Linked DNA regions of Homo sapiens: regions 1, 2, 3, 4, 5 and 6 are each linked to region 7. Evidence: promoter capture Hi-C in 16 types of primary human blood cells and fetal thymus (Javierre and others, 2016). All regions are on one chromosome and are shown on one strand. The core of a region is centred on a gene start or on the middle of the fragment in contact, and the rest is flanking DNA. Distances in the headings are between cores, read along the strand shown. Region 1 has its middle 78 kb from the start of LINC01948. Region 2 has its middle 96 kb from the start of LINC01948. Region 3 overlaps MAP3K1 (mitogen-activated protein kinase kinase kinase 1). Region 4 has its middle 120 kb from the start of LINC01948. Region 5 overlaps LOC105378979 (growth/differentiation factor 3). Region 6 has its middle 62 kb from the start of LINC01948. Region 7 holds the start of C5orf67 (chromosome 5 putative open reading frame 67).

Region 1 (3,803 bases), core at 158-2,657, 200 kb after region 7:
TGAGATTTATAAAGCCTGGGTGTTGTTTTTTTCCCCCACTCTGGGCATTGCAAATTGCTTCTGTGATCCTAGTAAAATATCTCCAGAGACTTACTAGCAACAGGCATGGCTAATTAACACAGCCAGGGAATGTGGCGCCTTCCCTGGGTTTCTGAGCCTTTAATCCAGAGCAAGGCCCACTCTTCTTTTCGCGTCCCCAAGGCCATTAAGTACTTATCAGAGATCCAAGAACTTTAGATCTGGGCCAAGAGGCAAAGCCAAACAAGGAACATTGAATTGGACACTGTCCCTAAACCTTCAAAAATTAAAATGTGTATGACAACTCAGAAAACATGGTTTATGGAAAATTTTGAAAAAGGTAGACAAAGGAAGGCCTAAGGAAAATGAAGACAGATTTATAGCATGACTTAATAGGGGGTAGAGGGATGATAAAATGACCTATCCAGGTCCCATCTAACCTTATAGCTATGCAACAACTGGGGCAGAGCCATTATTTTTATTTATTTTTTGGCCTCACATAAATTTAACTTCATCATCCTAGACTCAGAGGCCTTGTTCCTACAAGAAATGCCATAACGAGTTAGTATATGTGAATCTTGGGTCATATCATGTTAACATTATATGTGACATACAATATTAAGCTGCAAATAGAAACTACAGAAGCACTATTCCTGCCTGAATATTTGTTGAAAATCAGAATACCATTATTCTAGTGAAACGTTAAAGAAATAATCTGTTGTGTCTTTATTGACAGAATAGAGAACAATTCCTTTGTTGGATTTTTGTAGGTAATGGGACAAGTTAAACACAAAGGCAGACATAATTTTGCAGTAATCCCCAAGGTGCAGTCACCAGTTCCATGCTTGCTCACCTCTGTCCTCTCCAACACAGAAGGCCAGCTTGTCAACTTTAAGAAGGCACAAAGCTGGGAAGAATAATAACTAAGCTTGATGACAAAATCAGGGTTTTGATGATAGGGTTTGTGTTGAAGGAGGTACTTACAAAACTGTATTTAACAAGCCTAAATGCAAAGACATTCAGAAAGCCATCTTCACAAGGACTGGTTGAAGTTGATCCACTTGGCATCACTGATGTGAAAAGGACCCATGGGCTTCTGCGTTTTGGTTGAGGACAAGCCCAATATGCATCAAAACATGATGAAGTTGAGTTAATATAAGGATAAAACTCTAGTGTAATGGCAAGACTCCCACTTACTTTGTATTCATTAAACCACATCTGGAATATGGCATTTTCCTTTTTGGGGCACCCAAAACTGAGGAATGAGCAAAAGAAAGTGACCAGAATATTCTACAGGGAATAGAAAGAAACAGAAATGAAAGGAATTTTTTTTTTTTTTTTTTTGGAAACGGAGTCTCACTCTTGTTGCCCAGGCCGGAGTGCAATGGCGCAATCTCGGCTCACTGCAACCCCCACCTCCCGGGTTCAAGCAATTCTCCTGCCTCAGCCTCCCGAGTAGCTGGGATTACAGGTGCCTGCCACCACACCCAGCTAATTTCTGTATTTTTAGTAGAGATGGGGTTTCACCATGTTGGCCAGTCTGGTCTCCAACTCCTGACCTCAGGTGATCAGCCAGCCTTGGCCTCCCAAAGTGCTGGGATTACAGGCTTGAGCCACCGCACCTGGCCAAGACAGAACTTTTGAGTTGACATGAGAATTGTCTTCAAATATTCCAAGGGGCATCAATGGCACAGATAATAGTAAGACCTACCTGGGAACAATGTGTGCTTTGTATTAATAGCTGAGTATTAACAGGAATGCAGCAGGTCGCTAAGACACATCCTTTGTATCTTCTTAAGTAGGGTCCTAGCATTATATGTAGCCTTGTCCACACAGAATCGTAAGCTTCTACCTCCATGAACTCCCCCCATCTGCTCTCACTGCGCTACTTTAAAGCCTTCAGAGGCTCTTCTCAAATGAAGCATTTTGACAATATACATCTCACATGAACAGTAATTTCTGGCACGAAAAGAATTTTTAGAAATTTTAAATAAAACATGTTTTTTGAAATTATTTGATTATGAAAAAACTAATTTAGTTTATAAGGAGAATATTTGGAAATCTTTGGAAAATCTACCTATAAACTGCTTGCAAATGTACTGGGATTTTGTTTTAAGGTCTATAATTAATTAAGTTGATAGAATGCTGCTGGTCGACATTAACCATTGATTAATTTTGTGTTTATGGGATTGTTATATATGTATGTGTATAATTGCTATATATATTATAATACAAATACATTAGGTCTTGTATTTTCATAATCCTTTTCAAAGCACATAGGTCCTAGTCACAGAGCTCACAATGACAAGTTGATAAAATGGCTCTGCTTATCTCAAGTTGATAAAAAGTCTGTTCCATGGTAAGCACTCAGTATTTGCCGAATCAGTTAAAATACTGACTCATCAAATAACAACCAGAAATTTCTAGTTCTTTTCCCTGCTCAAAGCTCGAAAGAGGGAATTAAAAGATGAGTGGGAATGGGAGGGGAGGGGCAGCAGCTGTCTTCGAATTTCTGTGGATCCTGTTTGCCAAGAAAAGATACATCCTAATTTGGTTTTTAATTGCAGGTGTGATTGTCCCCAGTGCTGCACCACAGACATTACCATGTTAATAGCAGGAAGTGTACTGGGATCAGAGAAGCAAGGTCCCATTTAGTGCAGGAGTTGAGTCACAGCTTTTCTAAAAAGAGGATTCTAAATATACTGAAAGGGGGGACTAGCTGCTGGATATTGGGAAGGGTGCCTTTTTGCAGGTCTTTTTGAAAAAAGGCAACAGATTAAGCAGTGGATCAAAATATAAGTGAAAGACTTGCCCACCAAGTTAAAAAGCAAAAAAGAACTGAACTAAACTAAAAATAGCTCCAACCCAGAGATCAAGAGGACTATTTTGTCCAAGGAAAGAATAGAAGTGGCCCGCTTACACTCCGCCAAGCCACTAGCTTCAAGTGCATCATTGTGCCAATAGCAGAGGGTCTGAAAGGCTTCATTATTAAGAAGTTAATGCTTGACAGCAGCCGACTCCACCACAGCAAAATTACCAGCCTCCGAAAGACTGCCTCCTATGAGTCTTGGGTTAATTACTCAAATCTCCAAATTATCCTTCAGGGAACAAAATGAAGCATGCAGAATCAAAAGCAGATCTGTAGCTGAGATTATGAAAAGGGAGTGGGTTCCTTTCCATTTTAAAAAATGATTATTTCTATTGTAGGAACCACAGAGGGGAAAGGGAAAAAAGCAAAACAAAAAACCTGCCCCTGTACCAAGCAGGCAATAAATGGCTGGCAGCCGTACAGCCCAAGGGGAAAACAAAATCTGCCCATATAAATATTCACATGAAAGCGTTGTCTAAATCTCCTAAACAAGTCACCCCAAATCAAATTGCTTGAGAAGAAAGGGGGTGCTGAAATGGAGACAAACACCCCAAGTCTTGTTGCTGAAAAATATTTTCACTAGCTGCCATTTTCCAAAATAGCTGGATGTACTCAATCAAGCCACCTAATATCTACTGAAAATAAAGTACTTAAACATTATTTCTCCCTCTATATGTACATATATTTATTTCCTAGCCTTACTTCCCATTTCACGAAGTAATTTAAAATGTTTTTTATTTAGAACCGCCACCACCAAAACATTTAATTTTTTTCCTGCTTCCCGCCGCCCCCATCAACCATGGCTGTCAGAGGCTCCCAAAACTTTCTAAGAGAAGTAATTCTCAAACAGAGATCTCTGGGCATATTTTTGGAAGGGGAGGGGGCTCCATGAACTGTAAGAAAATTAAAAAATTTT
Region 2 (3,951 bases), core at 1,310-3,809, 220 kb after region 7:
TTAGCCTGGGTCCTGAGCAAGCTGCTGAGAGAGTTGCAGTGGAATTCATGGGTTCATTAGAGATTGCTTATTTTAATAATAGGCATCCCCTTGCTTTGTTTGTACTAACTATTCTTAATATGTAAGAAGGCCAAAACATTACTGGATAATCAATTACCAAGCCTCAGAAACAAGTGAAATAGGTGAAGTACACAGTCCAATTTTTTTGAAAGTGTTTCCTTTACAAAATTGCTTTCGCTCATGCTCTGATGTTTTTAATTCTGTAATTAGAAATATGCCACCTTGGGTTAACGTGTTGATGTTTATTTAAAAGTAAACAGAATAACTAATACAGTATATTAAGCCTTTTCTGTCAATTGAAATATGACTTAATGTATTACTGCAGTAAACTGTTGCAGTTACTGAAACTCAGGAGGATGAATTTACCAGATCCCTTCCTAAAACCAGGCTTTGACATGGAAGGGGGTAGAGTGATCTTGAGGACCGTGAATGGTGAGGAATTCCCAGAAATAGGAGGTGACAACATCTAAGGCCATCTTTCCTGCTTCACAGTATTTTTTCAACTGTGCTTATTATAAATAGTTTTGTCCCCTCTTTATAGAAGTTGACTCTAAAAATTCTGTAAGATTGCAGAGCAATTGTACATTTTCAGAGCCATCATATTCTCAAATCTTCCCAAGTAGCACCAGTATTTTCATCCAAGAAACTCTTTAGATCCCCTTAGTATCATTCTGTGCCTGGGGTTTTCCGCACTTTTGGACACTGCCATTCATTCAACAAATTCAAGGACGATAAGACGCTGCTGTAGCCCTCCCGCCTGGAGTGTGGAAGACAGTGGGCGAGACAAACTCAATAGCAATGCATTGCTATCTTTATAGACCCAATTTCTAGTTATCTCTGAAACTATGGTATGTGGCTCTTTGAACGTTCTATTTTGTCTTATTTTGCTTTGGAAGTGCATTCTTTCAAGTCTAATTAGACTATTTGTGGCTTAAAGAAAAATACAAAGCTTTTCCCAGGACACTTTGGGCTTTCATGTTTACCATCAAATTAGCAAAAAACAAACACACACAATTCTAAGGCATTTATTTTGAAATTTAATTGTATACACACTTGCATATAATTTCAACTTCACAGTGAGTTGTCCCATAGGCATTTTCTGCAGAAAATTTTTGGAAAGACCAAAAGAATGTTTGTGCCTACTGGCTAGATCCAGTTCCCTCTGGGAGGACATTACAGACTCCAATTCACGTGAGATGCTAGGCAGGCTAGGACTGAGGATACCCAGGAATCCTCTCGCTGAATTTCCTGGTGTGGAGCTCATTTGACAAATGTGGTTTCCATTTATGAAACTGCTTAGCAACCATCCTGTATTTTAAATTCTGCTAATGTCAAAAATCACAAAACTGAGAAAGAGGAGGAAATTTGAGGCTTGCTTGATTGATGAAGAAACCAGGGCTCAAGTAATTGCATAACCAAAACCATCAACTGGGCTTAGAGCTAACACAACTTGTTCATGCAAACCAGCATCAACAAACCCCAGAGCCACACAATTTGCCACCCAGACTTCTGGTTAACGCCCAGCAAAGAGGCCTTGATTCCTGAAGGTTGCAGGCTGATAACTCCAATAAGACCAAGAAACCTTGTGAAAGTACCACTCACCAACTGATTGTACTGCTGGAGCTCCCAGAAACCACGTAGATGAGGAAATTCAACTGGCAAATAGCAAACTGCCTCAATGATATTTGAAAATTGATTTAATGTTATTATAATTCCCTGAATAACCAAAGATCGTCTGGTGAAGGGTAATCACTACAGAGGGAACATATGTTGTTTTAAAAATTATGTCACAAGCTGTAATTCTTTTAACTCTGTTTGTAAAATTAGGTTATATCCCTGATATTACATATTTTATTCTTCCTTTCTCCATGGGAACAAGATATCTTTAACTGTCCTTAGGACTGGAATGATTTTGGGGTAAACTAAATAGAAAGGTTAGAAGAAGAATAAGAAAGAGGAGGAGGAGAGAGGGGGAATGGGAGAGGAGGAAGAGGAGGGGGCAGGAGGAAGGAGAAGGAGAAAGAGGAAAGGGAAGCAGGAGGAAGAAGAGGAGGAGGAAGAGAAGGAGAAAAGAAAGAGAAAGAAAAGAATAACAGCAACAACAACACTCAAGAGAAGAGCACTAAAGGATGATAGAACCTCCCTGCAATACTAAAACACTGGCCTTAGGGTAAGTAGAATGATTTTTTTTTTTTTTTGATCCGTATTCTTCCATTTTTTCAGTCTTCACATCCTAATGCTGAGACATCAGATGGGTGAGGAATTCAACTGTGGGGTAGTTTCTATGAAATTAGGGTGATGTATTATTTGCCAGGGGTCTGTGAGAGAAGTAAATAGCAATCTAGATACTCCAATATTAATTAGAGGTGAAGATAATAGAGATGGATTTTGAATTTGATTTTTTGAGTCCTTTGGATAAAGATGCAAGAGAATCCCTCAGGCAATCGCTCCTTATGTTCCTCAAGGATTTTCTCACATGGATTCTAAATCAGGGTTTATCTTAGCAAGCAGTCTCTAAAATCTTGGATATTTAAAAAATGTTCTGTAAGATAATGTTTCCCATAAGTTTCCAGCAGATAAATAAAAGGAATGCTCCAGAAGACAGTTCAGGTAGTATGGAGCCAGTGAGATTTGGCTGTCCAGTCTTTTTTCTCACTTAGACTCATTTCGTGGTTTCAGACAAAATTCTTTCCTCTCTCCACTTAACTAAAGAATACTCATCACGTGTATACATATGTAACTAACCTGCACGTTGTGCACATGTACCCTAAAACTTAGAGTATAATAAAAGAAAAAAAAAGAATCCTATCTGAGGTTGCTTGATGCAAACCTTTTTCTTTATTTTCATTATTTTCTTAGTATCTTTTATTTTGTTTTTGATTTTTCTTTTTTGTTTATTTCATCTCTTAAAATTTTTATTAATCTTGAAATTTTTAGCATTTTAATAGCTGGGTTTTTTTTCTTTTGTGGTGGTTTTTTGTAGAAGCATCATGAGAAATGTCTAGACATTGAAAGCCTTATCCCTATCATAGCCTGGTTTTAATCTTATTAACTCCATGTTTTCCCAGTATGAATGCTCTGTTAAAACAGTATTTACAAGCAAGACAGGACAGTGGCCCACCCAGGAATGACACAAAGCCAGGGGAGCCTCCCCCACCTAGGGAAGCGGTGAGCAAATGTGCGACCCCGGAAAACCACGTTTCTCCTACAGATCTTCGCAACTCTTGGGTCAGGAGATCTCCTTGTGAACCCAACAGGGCCTTCAGTCTTGAGTCAGAGGGACAGAGCTAGGTGGAGTTTCGGCAGAGCTCAGGCTTGCGCGCAGACCCTGGAGCCTTAGATACTTCCGCTTTCCAGCAAAAGCAGCTGCAGCTCTGGCAAAGTGGGAGGTTAGACTCCCACACATATTTCTAGGAAAGAGCCTGAATCCCGGGAGCTGAGCAGCAACAGCCCGAAGATCCCACTTCCACAGCATCTCACAAGATAAGACCCACTGGCTTGGAATTCCAGCCAGCTACCAATAGCTGCATTGCAGCCCCATAAAAAGAAGCTCGGCAAGGGGGTGACATCTTTGCTGTTCGGATGCGTTAGTCATTCCAGCTTTCAGGCTTTGGAGAGTCTGAGCCAATCCAGGGTGGAAGGGATCCCCCAGCACAGCACAGCTGCTCTACCAAAACGTGGCCAGGCTGCTGATTTAAGTAGGTGCCCGATCCCATTCCTCCTCACTGGGTAGGACCTTCCAACTGGGACCTCCAGTTGCCCGGCTCAAGCTCTCCACGGACAGAGATCTAAATTCCCCCAACATGGTACGCCCAGAGAGAGCGGGGCGGGGCCGCGGGGGTGGGGGTGCTAGCTTTGCTGTTTGGGTGACTTAGCCATTCCAGCCTTTGG
Region 3 (3,928 bases), core at 212-2,711, 250 kb before region 7:
TACAAAACTGTAGAAATGGTATTATTTGTTATTATATACCCTAACTCATTTAACACTCAAAAGCAACAATCAAAGGTGATTAAACAAATGTGAAAAATAAGCACTCATAACTTCTACAGTCAACTTATTCAACTACTAGATCAAAGATCTAGGTACGTTTTTATTTGTTTTTACAAAATGTAGGACCTTGAAACAACACTGGGCATAATTTCAAATAGTTTGATCACTATGCAATCATTTTCCCTGCTTTGTGTGTGTGTTTCTTTACAATGTTATATTACAATAATAGGTTAGATGTGTATCTCAGAAAACCAAAAGAGACTAGAAGTTTAAAGATCAATTTCTCAAGCAGAAATGCAGTTTACAAGACCTGCCTTTTTTTTTTTTTTTTTTTAATTAAGGCTTTCAGACCTAATCTAGCCATGACCAAAGGCCAAACTCCACAGCTTTGTACAACTGAAGCTCAGCAGACCTTTCTGGACTTTCTCCCACTGCTCCTGTTCTATAGCCAGTTGCTGTGTTCACCAAACTTGCCTGACCCTTCCTCCTCCTGTGCTTTCACTCACTCTCCTCCTATTTTAATACTCATCTCCAGCCTGCAGCACCCCAGGCAGTACACCTTCACATGAGGAAAATTTACCCATCTTTCTACGCTGAGTTAAAATTCTTCCTTTTATGAAACTTCCCTGAAGTCTACCAGCAAGACATTCCTTCTCTTTCCTAAGTCCCTATTGCTCTTCTGCCCATCCCACACATTTGGCACCTAGTCACAAGTTGCTTTGTGATATTTCATGTATTACTCTATTTATTATGTATAAGTCTAATTTTCCCATTTGGAGATATTTACCCTTTATGTTTCAAGAATGATTTGACACAACTTACTTAAAGTATAAAAACAAACAAAATCAGACCTCCCAAGTAAACAGTAAACTTCCTAAGGATAATACGAAATCCGTAAATCATAAAATGTAGGGTGGCATAATTAAGCTTAAGGACTATGTGTTATGCATCTTATTCCACACATCTCCTCCCTCTTCACTCATGTCTTATATACAGACAAGGTACTTTGGTACTTGCTAGAAAGTGAACAGTATAAAAACCAAAATTTTGTTTTAGAGAACTGGATATTCTTAGTTCATGTATAATAAAGAACAAATAGCTGGCTCATTTTTAAAAAGTTGTGATTTATGCCCTACGGTATTCTCAAAAGATTTAGGCTGTTTGAACACCTCCATCTAAAGGAGCTCAGAAAGCAGCACATTCAAACTTCAGATGGCTCTGCTTGTTCAAAAGTTCTTTATATTGATTGAGTAGTAATATGCCCTTTTAACTGCCAACATTCTACAAGATGTTTCAATAGCACTTTCTCTTCTCTAAGATAAATCCTTAATTTCTTCATATTCACCTTCTGGCACGAATAGCTAAAATGGTGAGGGGTTCCCACCATACCACCTCACGTGAGTAATAAATGGAAGAAATGTAGAAACTTAGCTGTAAAGACAAGGACTCACGGGCCCATAATAACTTACCAAGTGCTGGTATGGAAAGGAACAATTAGATTTATTCTGTATAATTCCATCGGTTAGAATGAGAACCAGTGGGTAAAATATTCCTGACAGACTGCAGCTCAGTGATGAGGATATCGAAAGCCACAGGGATTATTGAGTTATTTAAGTCAGACACGAGTCAGTACTACACATCTAAGAGAGCTTTCTGAGGCAGTGAAAATGTGCTAAAACTGCACTGCCTAAAAGGTAGCCATTGGCCACATGTGGTTACTGAGCATTTGAAATGTAGTTGGTGAGACTGAGGAACTAAATTTTTACTTTTATTTACATCTAATTAATTTAAATGTAAACTTAAATAGGCATATGGGATGAATGTAGGGCAGACAATCACTTGGCAGGGGTGTATTTAGACCCTTGTCAAAGCTTAGATGAATTTTAAGTTGCCATATCTGTTTTAAAAGAACAAAATAAAAACTTGCTGAGAGAGATTAGTGCTAGGATACTGTAATACTTCTTCCTTTGTAAGAATGAAGACACACATTTCATGATGGTATTCTTATAAGAATATATATTCTTATACCTATAGCAAAGGACAGAGTATCCCTGCTTTTTAAAATCTAGGACTCTAGATTTTCTTTCATCAAACCCCACACATTTTTAATTTATCTTAATCCCCATAGGTCTATTAAACATTTTTTCATGTCAAATGAGGATAACATGCTGACACTGTAACAAAGTTGGAGAAACGCACATCTTATGCATGCATGTGAAAACCCAATCATTACACTTATGAATTACTGCAATTAAATGTTTTCTTTCCTAGAAGATTTCTGAAATTAAGATCCTTGGATCCTGTCTTAGAGATAAAACATCTAAAATAAACTGGAAAAATTCTTTTTAAAATTTACAAGTACAGTATAAAACTCCAATGAAAGGATTTTAGATACTGACATGAGAGGGCAGTCTTGGTTTAAGCATTTACCCCTCCACCAAACACAACAGTTAAGTTCCCAGAATAGTTTAAGTTGTTTAATGAGCACAGTTTTAATTATGGTTTCTTCCAAATGACCACAATATCAAGTAAAGAAAACTACTACATTTAAAATGAAGAAGAAAAGCTTACAAGAGGATCTATTTATGCTTACTTTTCCATTTCCTCCTATGCTTTCTTCCTTATAACTGGTAACCCATAGCCACTTACCACAGGCCCTCGCCTATTTCTCCTTTCCAACCATTCGTGCTTCCAGGCTGGCATACAGGTTGCCTTCAGTTTCTCCCTGATCATTCGTTCCTCTGGACGATCATCCATCTTGTGCAACCCTTTGAGAGTTTCTTTATTCTCCATCTCACGACTAAAATGCAGGCAGAAACAAATAAAATGAGAAATGTATATATGAAAAATAATTTCCAAGAACAAACAGAATGGATGGTTCTATTTTATACTTCCAACGGACATGTAATAAAAAAGATAACTGCTAAAAACCCCAAATGACTTAAAGCTTGAAAAGATTCTGAATTATATACTACTGACATATATCATGCAGACCTATGTTCCACTGTAGTTAACAAAATGAATCCCAAGACATTAAGCACTATATTAACAAATATATTCACTAAGACTGCATTGTTTTTAATTCTACCACCCAAATAACAAATATTTAGAAGGGTGTATTACTACACTTTTATCCCAGGATTTCCAATAAATTAAGTCAATACAGATAGAATCTGGTGGATATGCTGATTTATCTGAAATAAGCTCAATAAATATTTAATAAGTGAAGTGAAACTTAACTACATCATCTATGACCCCAAAACAATTTTTCATAGCCTACATGATTAAATTTTTATTTTCATAGAACAGTGACTTCATAACAAAGCACTTGGGGTACTCTATAAAGAATAAAAATTATCCAGTACAAACATTTGATCTTTACTCCATAAAATGGTGTGGATTTACCAGAATAAAACAATCTCTAAACTAAGAACGTTTGAGAATTAACTCTACAAAGCCTAACAGGCAAAGCATCAAGCTCACGAAAATCACTAATTTTAAAATATACCCATATCCACATGAGCATACATGCATACACGATATGCATAGATTTGAAAACCTGATTTATAAGGATGCAGTTAAAGCAACTGCACCTTGGGATTAGTAACAACTTTAAAAATACTAAGCTAATTTCAGTAACTATTTTGAAAAGTCTTTAAAGCTAGAGAACAGTTTTTCTACACTGATAGGAAAAGGAAATACTCAAGGAAATACCAAAAACAAGAACCTCAAGTTTACTACAAAGACAAATTCAAACTCCTCTAGGAATTTTCCAGCTAATCACAACTATGAAGTACGATCTTCAGAGAATCAGCCAAAGGAAGAAGAAACTACTTAAAAAAAAATATTCACTAGAAAGGAAACGGTT
Region 4 (3,537 bases), core at 464-2,963, 240 kb after region 7:
ACCTTCATTCTTCATCTCTAAAATGAGGATGATAATACCTCATGGGTGCTAAGAAGAGTTCCAGGCATGGTTTGCCAAGAAGAGTTCCAGGCATGGTTTGCTAGAGTTTGTCCTGAGAGATGATGAGGACCAGTGCTAAGAGTGTCAGTGGAGACCAATGGCTAGAGATGTCTCTCAGATGTATTTGAAAGATATGTCACATGATTGGATTGGGGAAAGTGAGGAAGAGAACAGCAAGGAAAAGATCAAGCGTGGTGTATTAGTCCATTCTCATGCTGCTAATAAAGGCATACCAGAGACTGGGTAATTTATAAAGAAAGAGGTTTAATGGACTCACATGGCTAGGGAAGCTTCACAATCATGACAGAGGATGAAGGAAGAGCAAAGGGACATTTTACAAGGCAGCAGAAATGACAGAGTTTGTGCAGGGGAGCTCCAATTTATAAAACCATGAGATCTCATGAGACTTATTCACTACCATGATAACAGTATGGGGGAAACTGCCCCCATGATTCAGTTATCTCCAGCTGGCCTGGCCCTTGACACACGGGTATTATTACAATTCAGAGTGAGATCTGGGTGGGGACATAACAAAACCATATCACATTGCAATCATGTTTCTCACTTGAGAAAACCTAGATGGTAGGGGCAGTGATCAAGATCAGAATATAGGAGGTTCAGAATATTACTTTTTAATTTATTGTGTTTAACATTCCCAAATGAAAATCAGGTAGAAGTCTCTGTTAGGCAGTTAGCAACAAGACCATGGAGCTTTGGAAATAGCAAATATAGATTTAAAGGTTGCCAGCATAAAGATAGTAGTTGAAATCAAAGAGAAACTTTAAAGTGAGAATATATAGAGCAGGATTTCTTAACCTTGGTGCTGTTGACACTTGGGGATGGATGATTCTTTGTGTGTGTGCAGGGAGGAGGGGGGTGCTGTCTTGTACATTCTAGGATGTTTAGCAGTACCATGGCCTCTACCCAACATAGGTGCCAACAGCACCTTTTAGTTGAGACAACCAAGAATGTCTCCAGATAGTCCCAAACTTCCCCTGGGGGGCAAAATCGTCTTTCCTTGAGAACCGCAGGTATAGAGTGAAAATGGTAGAGAGGGAAACTTGGGCAAATCACACACACACACTGAGCCTCAGTTTCTGAATCCATTAATTGCAAATAATTCTAGAAATAGCACAGATAATAAGCAGTGTGGGGAAGGACTCCTTATTCAACAAATGGTGCTGGGATAACTGGCTAGCCACATGCAGAATAATGAAACTGGACCCCTTCCTTATACCATATAAAAAAGTCAACTGAAGATGGATTAAAGACTTGAATGTAAAACCCAAAACTATAAAAACCCTAGAAGACAATCTAGGCAATACCATCTTGGACATGGGAACAGGCAAAGATTTCATGATGAAGATGCCAAAATCAATCACAACAAAAGCAAAAATTGACAAATGGCATCTAATTAACTTAAGAGCTTCTGCATAGCAAAATAAACTATCAACAGAGTAAACAGAAAACCTACAGAGCAGAGAAAATTTTTGCAAACTATGTATCAGACAAAGGTCTAATATCCAACATCTATAAGGAACTTAAACAAATTTGCAAGAGAAAAACAAACAAAAAAAACATTAAAAAGTGGGCAAAGGACATGAACAGACACTTTTCTAAAGAAGACGGGCTGGGTGCCGTGACTCACACCTGTAATCCCAGCAGTTTGGGAGGCTGAGGCAGGGAGATCACTTGAGGTCAGGAGTTCAAGACCAGCCTGGCCAACATGATGAAACCCCATCTTTACTAAAAATACAAAAATTATCCAGGTGTGATGGTACACGCCTGTAGTCTCGGCTCCCCAGGAGCCTGAGGCACAAAAATCCCTTGAACCCAGGAGGCAGAGGTTGCAGAGAGCCAAGATCCCACCACTGCACCCCAGTGTGGGTGACAGAATGAAACTCTGCCTCAAAAAAAAATAAATAAACATGAAAGTTAACAAAATAAAGACATACATGTGACCAAATATCATATTTAAAAAAAGCTCAATATCACTGATCATTAGAGAAATGCAAATCAAAACCACAATGAGATATCATCTCACACCAGTCAGAATGGCTATTAAAGAGTCAAAAAATGGCCGGGCACAGTGGCTCCCGCCTGTAATCCCAGCACTTTGGGAGGCCGAGCACCTCAGGCGGATCACCTGAGGTCAGGAGTTCAAGACCAGCCTGGCCAACATGGTGAAACCCCATCTCTACTAAAAATACAAAAAAAAAATAGCCAGGCATGGTGGTGGGCACCTGTAATCCCAGCTACTTGGTAGGCTGAGGCAGGAGAATTGCTTGAGCCCAGGAGGCAGAGGTTGCAGTGAGCCAAGACTGCGCCAATGCACTCCATCCTGAGAAACAAGAATAAAACTCTGTCTCAAAAATGAATAAGTAAATAAATAGTCCAAAAATAACAGATGCTGGCCAGGTTGTGGAGAAAAAAGAACCCAAAAGAACACTGTTGGGGGGAGTGTAAATTAGTTCAGTCATCGTGGAAAGCAATGTAGCAATTCCTCAAAGAGCTGAAAACAGAACTACCTTTCAACCCAGCAATCCCATTACTGGGTATATACCCAGAGGAATATAAGTCATTCAACCATAAAGACGCATGCACTTGTATGTTCATTGCAGCTCTATTCACAATAGTGAAGACATGGAATCAACCTAAATGCTCATCAATGACAGATTGGATTTAAAGACTGTGGTACATATACACCATGGAATATTATGCAATCATAAAAAAATGAGATAATGTCTTTTGTGGGAACCTGGATGGAGCTGGAAGCCATTATCCTTATCAACTAATGCAGGAACAGAAAACCAAATACCGCATGTTCTCACTTGTAAGTAGTTGCTGAATAATGAGAACTCATGGACACAAAGAAGGAAACAACAGACACTGGGACCTACTTGAGGGTGGAGGATGGGAGGAAGGAGAGGGGCAGAAAAAATAACTATTGGGTACTAGCCTTTGTAGCTGGGTGATAAAATAATCTGTACAACAAACCCCCATGACACAAGCTTATTTACATTACAAACCTTCACATGTACCATCAAACCTAAAATAAAAGTTAAATAGAAAATGTGATATATATACACAATGGAATACTGTTCAGCCACAAAAAAAATGTAATTCTGTCATTTGCAGCAACACAGAGGACATGATGTTAAATAAAATAAGAGAAGCACAGAATGATAAATACCACATGTTCTCATGCATGAGAGAGCTAAGAAAAAGTAGAGTACAATCGTGGGTATTAGAGGCGGGGAAGGGTGGCGGGGCAGGGAGGATGGGGAGATGCTGATTAACAATTACGGAATTACCGTTGGATAAGAGGAATGAGTTCAGGCGTTCTGCAGCATCACAGGGGGGATGTGGTTAACCAGAATTTATTGTACATTTTCAAAAAGCTAGAAGAGAGGATTTTTAATGTTCACAACACAAAGAAATGATCCAAGTTTGAGGTGATGGATGTGCTAATTCCCC
Region 5 (3,449 bases), core at 790-3,289, 160 kb before region 7:
ATGTCAGATGCAATTTGGTCTCCCCAAAAACTATGCCAGTTTACATTTCCCTCAACTGTGAGACCATTTTCCTCACACAGGGCAAGTCCTTTTGATAAGGGATACATTTCATTGTTAAGTTGCATCTTTAAAAATGAAAATTTGAACATATCAAATTAGCCAGTTGAATTCTTTGAGCTTATCAAGCATTTTTTGTCTTATAGAAACTCTTAATATAACAAAATGTGACAAATATATTTAAGTTTCTTTTCTACATGGGGGTATTATATGGATAAGTCCATCTCTGACTTTATTGGTTCTAGGTTTCATATTTGGTCATCCCCATAAAAAGATCATACACACTCTGCCTCTTGTAGTTCTTGTGTTCATGGTCTTATTTATACATTAATACTTCTGGGTAGGGAGAGCTGGAGGCGCCCAGGCCACTTGTGTCTAGGCCTGGCAGTGCCAATCTCTGGCCAGTCAAATGTAAGTGGGAGTCTGCAGGGTTTCCAAGAAGGCTTCTACTTTGGAGTTGAGGGCCTAGTTTACAGTAATAATGTACTACATTACTGGGGGCAATGTAACAAAGATGGCAAAGCTGGAAAGAGTACGGGTTCCTTAGGGCAGGGATTGGCAAGCTTTTTCTGTAAAGGGACAGATAGTAAATATCTTGGGCTTTGTAGGCCATACAACCTCTGTCTACTCAACTCTGGTGTTGAAGCATAGAAATGGCCATTGAGGAAATGTAAATGAGCATCTTTGTATTCCAGTAAAACTTTATTCACGGGCCCTAATATTTAAACTTAATGTAACTTGTCACAAAATATTCTTTTTTCCAACCATTTAAAATAGGTAAAGACCATTCTTCATTTTTGAGTTGTACAAAAGTGTAATGATTGGCCTGTGGGCTGTAGACTGTCAACTCACCTTAGAATATCATTGAGCAGGTGGGCCAATACTAGCAGAGACTTCTAATTTATGAGAAATTGTATCTCTAATTAGGCCACTGTTCGTTTGGTTTTTTGGTTACTTGCAGTCAAATACATTCTTATCTGATACAGGTCTTTTTTTTTTTTTAATAGCCCGCTGTTCTAACCTTTTATTGACTATTTGAACTTTCATCCACCTTCATTTGGGCACTATTTTTTAAATCACATGTTAAATTTCCTTAAGCCTAATAAGTTTTTTCTAACATTCTATTCTAATCCACTAATCTTTGTTCATTTTCATGTCCATATTAACTTAATTCCTATAGTTTTAATGTATACTTAGGATTCTGAAAGAATGTGTACCATACACTAAGTTGTTTTTCTCATGGAAGATGTCTGAATGTCTATATCTTCCCACCCATGAACATGATATAACTTTACATTTAATGGAGAAAAAGATCTGAATGAGTTACCTCACTTTTATTTCATTTAAGCCATGGCAATTTCTACTTGGATTATTTCTTGGTGATCTAGTTTACTGTTTTTAGTGTAAATGGAACTGTTAACTGGAATTACTTTTATGGCATCAGTCCACGTTACTCTTCCAATTCTGTAATGAAACCATGTAGATTCAGAGCATTGTTTTTTGTCCAACATGGAAGACCAACTCAGAGTTCAGTGCTTTCTGTCATTCTACTTAGTCTTTGGAAGGTGCTACTGGGCAGTTTTTTGTTCTGTTTGAATTAGGTGTTATTAAATGCTAGTGAGTCCTTAGACTTGACATCATCTAGAGCAGTAAAATGGTGTTATGTACAACTATTGGAAAGTGGATTGAACCTGGTTGCTGATACCGATCTAAGTGGTTTGGATTTGTGTATATTCTAAGCATCATGTTTTATGTCAATGGGAACCCAGAATGGAGGCTCAAAATAAGTTTAATCTGCATGTGCAGACAACTCCTAAAAGATAAAGAAACAGAGGTAGTAAGTGGCAAGACCTGGGCAAGAGGAGAATGCCAGAGCCTCATCTTCAGACTTACATTCCAACAGGAATGGACTCGTGATGACATGCATTTTGAGGAAGCATACTTTGTGCTTTGGTACTAGTTCTCAAAGGGGCTGAGGTCTGAGAGACAAACAGCCATCAAACCAGGTACAAAGAGGGTGCAGGCTGAGTGAAGCAGCACCCACAATGGCCTAGGGAGGAAAGAGTAGGAGACGGCTGTTCAGCTAAGCAGAGAAAGCTCAATAGAGCTGGCATGTGGGGTTTGCGGTGGGAGGAGTTGAGTGGGTGGGCAGTTTTACTCTTCTGGGCAGAGTCCACAGCATCATGTGAATTCAAATATGTAAATTGCTTTCCTTCATGTAAGATGAAAGATCACTTCTCTTTGGTGACTTGAATGTATTAATAAAAAGCAACAGGAATATCTACTAAAGCTGAATACATGCATACCCTATGTTCTATCAATTTCATTTCTAGCCACATATTTTACCAAAAGATATAGCAGCACTACATGTAAAAACCCCAAATTGAAAACTACCCAAATGCCCATCACCAGTAGAATACATTGTGGCATACTCACATAGGAGAGTACTATTTAACGAGGAGAAACAAAGTAGAACTCTAAATGAACTGATAAATCCCACAGACATGTTGAGGGAAAGAAGCTAGATACAGGGTAAAACATAGCTGTATGATTCTACTTAGGTAGAGAACAAAAATTGGCAAAAGTAGGACGAACACTTCAATTCCATTTATATTAAAGAATCCAGAGTGGTAAGATTCATAAAGACAAAGTAAAATGGTGGTTGCCAGGAGCTAGAGGGAGAGAGGAATAGGGAGATATTGCTGAGTGGGTATTGAGTCTCAGTTATGTGAGATGAAAAGAGTTTTGGAGACGGATGCTGGTGGTGGTTGTACAACAATGGGATTGCACTTAGTACGCTACTGAACTGTACACTTAAAAATGGTTAAGATGGGCTGGGCGTGGTGGCTCCTGCCTGTAATCCCAGCACTCAGAGAGGCCAAGGCGGGTGGATCACTAGGTTGAGATGGAGACCATCCTGGCCAACATGGTGAAACCCCGTCTCTACTAAAAATACAAAAATTAGCTGGGCGTGGTGGTGCACGCCTGTAGTCCCAGCTACTTGGGAGACTGAGGCAGGAGAATCACTTGAACCCAGGAGGCGGAGGTCGCAGTGAGCCAAGATCATGCCATGGTACTCCAGCCTGGCAAGAGAGCAACTCCGCCTAAAAAAAAAAAAAGATTCTAAGTTTTAGATATATTTTACCACAATAAATGTTTTACAAATGGCAAAGCAAATGTTGTTAGATTAACATTACTGTTAGCTGACGGTAGGGTGTGGGGTGCAAGTATAAAAGGAGCTCTTAAGTGTGGGGGATGTTCTGACCCTTAATCTGGGCAGAGGCCTCAAGGGTGTGTTCAGTTTGTGAAAATTCATCAAACCGTATACTTACGTGCATGTCTGCATGTATTTATATTTCAATAAAAGTTATCCTGGAAGGAAAAAGCAATGG
Region 6 (3,868 bases), core at 208-2,707, 190 kb after region 7:
GCAAAATAGAGAGACTAATAAGGGCCTCTCCTCAAGGGCAATAAGGAATAAAGTTTGGAAAGCACTTTAAAATGAAAGCTCCTGTTACAGTTTGCAGAGAGGGAGGCATTCAGAAATACAGCCTATAGGCTTAGCATGGACAAAAAAGGTCAGCATATCCCAGTCTGCGTGCTGATCTAATTAAACCCTGGGCAGCCCTCGCCACTGGCCAAATTCAGATTTCTGTCTCTCCATATAATGTCTAGAAACTACAGATGGATATGAAAGAATCTAAGTTTCCTTCTGCTGAGAAATTAAAATGCAACTCTTTTGAGTCTCTCTCTGTGTACGTCCATATGTATGTGCACGTAGGAGTTGTACTGTATCACCATCCCTCACTTTATAAAAATCTTTGGATTTTTCCTATACTTCAAACACACTCAGGGAAGCAGATAGCATTGTGTTCACCATGGTAATAATAAGCACTAATAAAACATAAAGGTGATTGCAACTCTAGTATAATCCCCTCGCCAGAGGCATCAGTCTCTTTAAACTTATGTGAGAGGCCAGTGCTTTCTGGAAAATATGCATTTATGTTTTTCTTGTTATGCAACTCCACAGCCTTGCCTTGTTATTTTGTTTTGTCTGCTCCAGAAACATTTAATGGATTACTTGAGACTTCTCCTTTTCACTTTTACTTTTCTTTTGAATTTTACTTGTTAAATTCTGGGATTCCTAGCACTCTAGTGATTGCTCTGCAGGACAGACTTCCGGGACTTTCTACTCCAGGTGAAAACTGTATCTTTCACATTTGCACATAGAGAAGCTTGCCAAAACTATCCTCTAGAGAGAAGAAATTTAAGTCATATGTCATTTATTCCAAGGAACATATTCTATATGTTGCCAGTGGAATGATTTGTCTTTTTCCAGGGATAAAAACTAACCCAAAGGCATTCTGGCTTTATTTAAATCATTCACAAAAGGAGACATTTATTATGGTTGCTATAGTTCTGCACTATTGAGCAAAGTGCCTTGATGTTTATATGCCTGTGGGTCTAGTCCTACTATGAGCTTCCAGAAGGAACTGACCAAGTATAAGAATACTAGTAATATGAGAGTGCCTTATTACATTAGCTGTCTCCAAAATAAGGTTAAATTTGCAAAACATTCAAATGAAATGGCTATCACCTGGTTGTACCATGAGTTATTGAGTCTTAGTGGAAGATCACTAATTTATGACACTAAATTTTTCAGTACAGATGTGAACATTTTTCTGTATTTTAAAAAATCCTTTTTCCTGACAGAGCAGCAAAACCAATTTATTCATTCAACAAAAATATTTTAGGAAATTAGTTTGTGCCAGACAGGGAACTTTAGCATAAAAATGGAAGCTCTCTAAAAGGATTGAGGGGAAATTATAGAGCTGAAAACTACAATATTAGAAATGGAAAATTCATTCAATGTGTTTAACTACAATACTGAACACAACCTTTACTGATCCTGAAGAAAAGATCAGTAAATTTGAAGGCAGTTCAATAGAAATTATTTAAACTAAACCATAAAGAGAAAATGAATGAAGAAAAACAATAGAATGTTTTAGATGTGAGACACTGTTAGATGGTCTGATATACAGGAAACTGGTGTTAAAGAACAGGAAGGAATAAGGCAGAAGAAACATTTATAGAGATAATGGCTAAGATTTAATCCAAGGTTAATGAAAGACATTAATCCACAAATCAAAGATCAGACTCTCCTAAGAGTTTCCTATGCTACTTAGAATAAATTCCAAGATCATAGACTAAAAGTTGCTTTTGATTTGGCTGTGGTTTACCTCTGCAACCTCATTTTCCTGCATACTTTCCTCAGTGAATTCATTCCAACTCATCTTTCAGCTCTTCTTTTAGATATTTCCCTGGCTGGTGCCTCTGGATACTCAGATTTCAGTTCAAATGTCACCTTCTCTTGTCTGACTCTTACCTCTCTACTTGTCAACTCCAGCCCCATTCTCACCTCCCTTTTACTCTCTATTTAATTATTTTGGATTTTTTTCATAGCACATATAATTATTTGAATTTAATTTATGTTATGAATTCACTATTTTATTCTTCACTCATTAGAATGCAAGCTTCTTGAAAGCAGGGAATATGTATTTTTCATCATTGTGTAACATCAATTCTTAGAAAAGTGTCTGGCACATAGGTAGAAGGTCATCGTAGGGGTGTGTGTGTGTGTGCATGTGCGTGCACAGTTTCAGAAATTATTGGGGCCTGTCAAAATTCTGAATAGCTCAGCTCATATTTACTGATGCAGCTCACTCTTCCAGCTCATCTGCACTTCCTCCTTCTGATTCTCATGTTGGCAGGACAAGAGAACACAGAACATGATATTATCACAACATTTTTACCACAGCACACACTTAAGGTTAACCCATCCACAAAGATGCTTATGAAAATCAAACAGAAAAGAGAATAGGAAGCAGGGGGTGAGTGGTTTATTTCTTTTAGACCTGCTGCTTGAACTTACTTAGACTCCTCTTAGATCTGGAGCTGAATTTTTTGACATTCCTGGTCACTTTTTCTACTCAGAGCTGAGTTGGGGTCAAGAAAGGAAAAATAAACTAGTACTTAAATAAAATAGCATACATTTGAATAAGTCTCTTAATTTTTCTAGGTATTTTATCCTGCTAATTCTATTCCTACAGCATCTGTATAAAGAGATAAGCGGGCCAATCTAAAAGGATTTCTAATGAAGTTAGAAAACTGAGGTTCAGCGAGGCTAGGTGACTGTGTAAGTCTATTCTCACACTGCTATAAAGAACTACCTGAGACTGGGCAATTTATTAAAAAAAAAAAAGGTTTAATCGGCTCATGACTCCACAGGCTGTACAGGCTTCTGCTTCTTGAGAGGCCTCAGGAAACTTACAATCATGGTGAAGGCAAAGAGGAAACAAGTACATCTTCACATGGCCAACAGGAGACAGAATGACAGGGGAGGTGCTACACACTTTCAAACAACCAGATCTCATGAGAGCTGTATCTCAGCACTAGGGCAATGGTGCTAAACCATTGGACACCGCCCCCATGATCCAATCACCTCTCACCAGGCCCCACCTCCAATGCCAAGAATCACAATTCAACATGAGATTTGGGTGGGGACACAGAGCTAAACCATATCAGTGACTTTTCCAAGATCTCACAGAAAAAAAAGTCTGGGTTCCAGGTAGCCAAAGTTGTCTTCTAACATTTTCTGCCAATATTAATCTCACATTTTCAACCTCTAAGTCTTAGGTTACCTGCTAAGGATGTTTTCATAGATATGACAATTGAAAAATAGAAAATTATAGATTTCTGATGGGGAGAAATAAATAGCAAGAAATAGTCTTATCACAAGGTCAGAATTAAGACCTTAACACTCTCGAAATTCTTATTGCCCTTGTTTCTAATACAGGCACCATTTAAGCTTATTGTCTCGTTTTCTTCTAGAAACCAAATGCCAGATCATTATTCCTATCATTTCTTATATTCTGCTCATCAGATAGTTTAGTGTTTTTAACCAGAAGTTTGAAGACATAATATAGAAGAAATAAACTCCCAAGTACCCTATGAAAGGGGAAAATTAAACAAGTCATCTTGGTGAACTTCTTGCTTCAGATGCCATCTTACTGCTTTTGTTTGCAATCTTACTGTTGCCTTAATATCTCTGAAACTTAATCATTGTCATCATGAAACTACCATCCCTAATATGAAATTATTTCAGTTCTCCAGTTTTCTCCACCTAACAACTTTGTGTCTTTACCAAACTTCTCATTTTATAAAGTTTTCAACTATGGCTTCAAGGACTGATGACATGACTAGGATGTCTGGTACTGTCCCAGATTGTCCTCTAAGTT
Region 7 (3,673 bases), core at 1,121-3,620:
CTATATATCTCCTTGAGTTGGACTTCTGAATACCACATTCTTCTCCCCACCAGAAAACACACACTTCTTCCCAGGGCCTTGGTGCTTCTGGCCAGCATGTGATTTGCATCTGGCAAAAATCTCCCTTCTGGCAGGAGAGCAGTTGTGTTTTGGCTGGGGCAGATATTATAATGCTGCAGAGTCACTCTGCAGGGGACAAAACGAGAGAAGCCCAGGGGTTTCCATCCCCCGCTCCCTGCCCCTGCAGAATTCTCAGCTGAGTGCAGTAATAGCATGACTGGGCACTTTAAGTCTGCCATTGTGCCATAACTTCCTCCTTGTCATTGCCCGTTAGCATCTCCTTTCTGAGAGGGTGGCAGGGGCAGGGCCACATATGAACTTGAATGGTGAGGTGGGGTGCAGTTGCTATTTCTTGCCAATACCCAAACTTCCAGCTGCATATTCAAGTCTCTGACTTGGAGCCGGGCAGCCAGAGAGGCAGGAGAGAAGGACCTGGGCAAGAAGAACAAAAAGGCCCCACTGCACGGCTCCATCCCCATCCTCTCTGTCTGCATCCCTCCAGTGTGGAGCTCAGGTGTGGGGTCCCCAGCACCTCCTCAGCAGGTAGCTTCCTGAAGCCCAGTACACTCTCACTCCCAGGCCTGCTTCCTCTCCACGCCTTTCCCGCTCCTCCCTGCATCTCAAATTGGTTCTTAGAACCCCTGCCACATCCAAGGAACTACTTGTGAAATACCTTTGTGATTACAGTTTATATGTTTAATTAGAAGCTGGGAATTAAGCTTCCAAACACCACAAAATGAAAGCTTGAGATTCTTCCAACAAACCCCAGCTTTCCACGAACATGGGCTGACTCATCCGTCTCCTGCTCTCCCCTGTCGCCCCAGCCCTGTCTTTCATGCTGAAGTCATTCACTTTCTTCACCTGGATTTGGAAAACTGCTGATGTCTCGTTTAGCTTCATTCCTAAGTTGTCTTTCAAAAGCAGGGACATGCAAAGTGGCTGCCTGTGGCAGAGGCAGCAGGAGAGGGGCACACTTGTTGAGTCTGAGAACTTCACAAAGACTGTTAATTAATTGCTCATTTCGACAAATGAGAACAGATTTCAAATGCATAGTTGAACGTGGAGCAGGAAGAACATCTTGCTCTTGTGACTTGGTTTTAAACGTTGCATCTAGAAGATGGGGTGATACTGAAAGATGTCACTTATTTCCTTTTGTGAATTGAGATAAAATGGTTCTAATTCTTTCACTGCTTTCTGGCTTTAGGGCCCTGCGAAAGAATGTTTATTCTTTTGCTCTTGGTGGGAATTGGATGTCTGTCGATTTAGCATATGTTTAAAATATTTTAGCTTTGGAAAACTGCCCTGATAGCCTTCTCCCTCTAGTCAAAATTAATCTCATCTTCCCGCAGCTCTCACAGCCAGTGATTCATGGCTCTAATACAGCCCTTCTCATATTCTTCTTTATTCTATAAAGACTTACTTTTCTATAAAGACTTTTATTTCTGTTTGTCTCTTACATCAAATTGAAAGTTCTGTGTGGAGAAGAACTCTGTCTTACACATCTTTGTGATTACCTGAGTCTAGTCTGGTACATTATATTTGGCAGCATTCAGTACGTATTACATTGAATCTGGAAGATCACACAGAGAGGGGGATTCTGAGGGGTGGCAACAACCACTTTTGTAGCAGACGCTGTTGGTGTCCAACCCATGTCCCCTTGGCCACCCCAGAGTTTGGCTGTAGTCACATGCTGTGTAGACAGACAACCTCCTGCTTCTCTCTGCCTGAGGGCATTCTTCAGCCATAGAAATGAGCTTGGAAGCGGCTGGGTATGGTGGCTCACACCTGTAATCCCAGCACTTTGGGAGGCCGAGGCAGGCGGATCACAAGGTCAGGAGTTCAAGACCAGCCTGGCCAATATAGTGAAACCCCATCTCTACTAAAAACACAACAAATTAGCTGGGTGTGGTGGCGGGCACCTGTTATCCCAGCTACTCAGGAGGCTGAGGCAGAAGAATCACTTGAACCCAGGAGGCAGAGGTTGCAGTGAGCCGAGATCGCACCATTGCACTCCAACGTGGGCAACAGTGCAAGACTCCATCTCAAAAAAAAAAAAAGACAAAAGGAAAAAAGAAAAAAGAAATGAGCTTGGAAGCACACAGGTTAGTCTGCAAGTGCCAGGGAATTATTGCCCAAGGAATGACCCTTGGCCAAAGAGGGAAAGTCCTGGCTGGATAAATAATCCAAAGTCCTTGCCCTCATTCCAAGGAATGTTCTGCAGTCTCCTAAGGGTTTCCTGCTAGAGGAAGCCCTGATTGCCCAAAGCTTCTTAACACATTCTTTATTAGCTTTCCTCTCTTCCCTGTTTCATATTCCCTGTGCTCCCCTGGGATCAACAGCCAAATGAACAACTTCACCTGAGCCCTTACCTCCAAGGAAGTGCCACAGGGGAACCCAAAGGCCCTTAATCATTAAAAAAAACTTTAGAGATGCTGGCTGAGCCATCAGTGAGAACATGGATGCATACACAGAACCTACATCTTGTCATCTCTGCTCTTCGAGGAATGGAGCTGGAGAGGCAGAGAAGCAATGAAGCCGAATTCTGTGAGTGGGACTTCTGCGCAGCGGGGGAGGGAATTTCTACTTCTGGCCAGGAAATAGAGCTGGTGCCTTGTAGAAAGGCTCGAGGTAATGCAGTCAAAGGGCAAGCTTAGAGCAGTATGTGAAGGAATCCACCAAGGATTAGAACCAGCCAAGGGTCAGACAAACCAAATGAGACCAGAAGAGGAAAGTGGTGTCTTGGCAGAAAGGGCTTCCAGACCCATAGTCACAGGAATCTTCAGGAGAGGGGTGAAGAAGAAGGCATGGATCGCCAGGCCCAGGAGAGTCTAAAGCTGGTTTGGTGGGGAAGAATTTGGCCACATCTGTGCAGGATCCTAGAGAGTGGGGCAGAGGAGCTGGGCATCTGCTGTCAATGAGGCCAATTAAGAACAGTCTCAGGCTTGGGTCTCAAGCCTCAGGGATCTAGAACTTATCTGGTTTTAGCTGCTCTATATTCATTTCTTAGGAAGAGAGAGAGAGAGAGTATGTGTGTGTGTGTCTGTGTCTGTGTATATGTGTGAAATTTCTCTCAACTGAAACACAGGGCAGAACACTAGATGAAACTAGTGCTGTACTTTTCTGCTTATCTGTCGACACAGTCTTAGTGCGCAAAGTCTTGGTCTTAGTGGCTGGGTGTGGCAGTTTCCCAGAGGTGGGGGGCAGTAATAAAGAGAGAGAAAGGGAGACCTGATAGAAGATGGAGACCAGATAGAAGGCATCTGCTACGTGCATAGGTGCCCCTTTCTGAACAAGCTGTTTTTTGGTTACGAGATCCATTCCTGAAATCGATTTTAAGATATTCTGTGTTGGGTGATGTCACAGAAGCACTACTGGTGCACGGATTTGAAAAATAGTGGCTCATCCCGCCTCAGGGTTTGACAGCTTGGTAACTTGCAGTGAGGTTTCTTTTAACAATGAAACCAAGTCCTTTGAAAGACAAAAAAAGAACAAAACATCCACTAATTTTTGCGTGCAGGAGTAAGACAACAGTATTGGGAGATCTCAGCTATAAATGTGCCAGCTCTGGGAACTTTGGTTAAGTCATTTCACCATTCGCCTGTTTCCTCACCTA

The links. Contacts are between HindIII fragments. The CHiCAGO score rates a contact against its expected background, and 5 or more counts as called.
Region 1: a contact is called between a fragment that was not itself captured here and the fragment with the promoter of C5orf67 in region 7, in 3 of 17 cell types (total B cells, naive B cells and neutrophils). The highest score is 9.9, in total B cells.
Region 2: a contact is called between a fragment that was not itself captured here and the fragment with the promoter of C5orf67 in region 7, in 1 of 17 cell types (naive B cells). The highest score is 7.3, in naive B cells.
Region 3: a contact is called between a fragment that was not itself captured here and the fragment with the promoter of C5orf67 in region 7, in 4 of 17 cell types (total B cells, non-activated CD4 T cells, neutrophils and 1 more). The highest score is 6.2, in total B cells.
Region 4: a fragment that was not itself captured here is called in contact with the fragment with the promoter of C5orf67 in region 7 in 2 of 17 cell types (naive B cells and total B cells); the score reaches 6.6 in naive B cells.
Region 5: a contact is called between a fragment that was not itself captured here and the fragment with the promoter of C5orf67 in region 7, in 3 of 17 cell types (naive B cells, neutrophils and total B cells). The highest score is 10.0, in naive B cells.
Region 6: a fragment that was not itself captured here is called in contact with the fragment with the promoter of C5orf67 in region 7 in 2 of 17 cell types (naive B cells and total B cells); the score reaches 7.0 in naive B cells.

What each region holds. Positions count from the first base shown.
Region 1 is chr5:56,401,631-56,405,433 of GRCh38, reverse strand. No RefSeq gene overlaps it. Among named protein-coding and RNA genes, the nearest start is that of LINC01948, 78 kb to the left of the region's middle. The HindIII fragment of the contact is 917 bases long and covers 949-1,865 here.
Region 2 is chr5:56,383,859-56,387,809 of GRCh38, reverse strand. No RefSeq gene overlaps it. Among named protein-coding and RNA genes, the nearest start is that of LINC01948, 96 kb to the left of the region's middle. The HindIII fragment of the contact is 3,095 bases long and covers 1,012-3,951 here.
Region 3 is chr5:56,855,532-56,859,459 of GRCh38, reverse strand. MAP3K1 (mitogen-activated protein kinase kinase kinase 1) reads right to left here. Exons shown (of 20, transcript NM_005921.2): 2 at 2,710-2,860. It also overlaps the pseudogene LOC124901214. Among named protein-coding and RNA genes, the nearest start is that of MAP3K1, 42 kb to the right of the region's middle. The HindIII fragment of the contact is 944 bases long and covers 990-1,933 here.
Region 4 is chr5:56,360,884-56,364,420 of GRCh38, reverse strand. No RefSeq gene overlaps it. Among named protein-coding and RNA genes, the nearest start is that of LINC01948, 120 kb to the left of the region's middle. The HindIII fragment of the contact is 2,721 bases long and covers 353-3,073 here.
Region 5 is chr5:56,765,836-56,769,284 of GRCh38, reverse strand. LOC105378979 (growth/differentiation factor 3) reads left to right here. Exons shown (of 3, transcript NR_172721.1): 3 at 1-2,890. Among named protein-coding and RNA genes, the nearest start is that of MAP3K1, 48 kb to the left of the region's middle. The HindIII fragment of the contact is 2,833 bases long and covers 623-3,449 here.
Region 6 is chr5:56,418,334-56,422,201 of GRCh38, reverse strand. No RefSeq gene overlaps it. Among named protein-coding and RNA genes, the nearest start is that of LINC01948, 62 kb to the left of the region's middle. The HindIII fragment of the contact is 1,299 bases long and covers 808-2,106 here.
Region 7 is chr5:56,604,953-56,608,625 of GRCh38, reverse strand. C5orf67 (chromosome 5 putative open reading frame 67) reads left to right here and starts at 2,370. Exons shown (of 6, transcript NR_161255.1): 1 at 2,370-2,604. The HindIII fragment of the contact is 384 bases long and covers 2,328-2,711 here.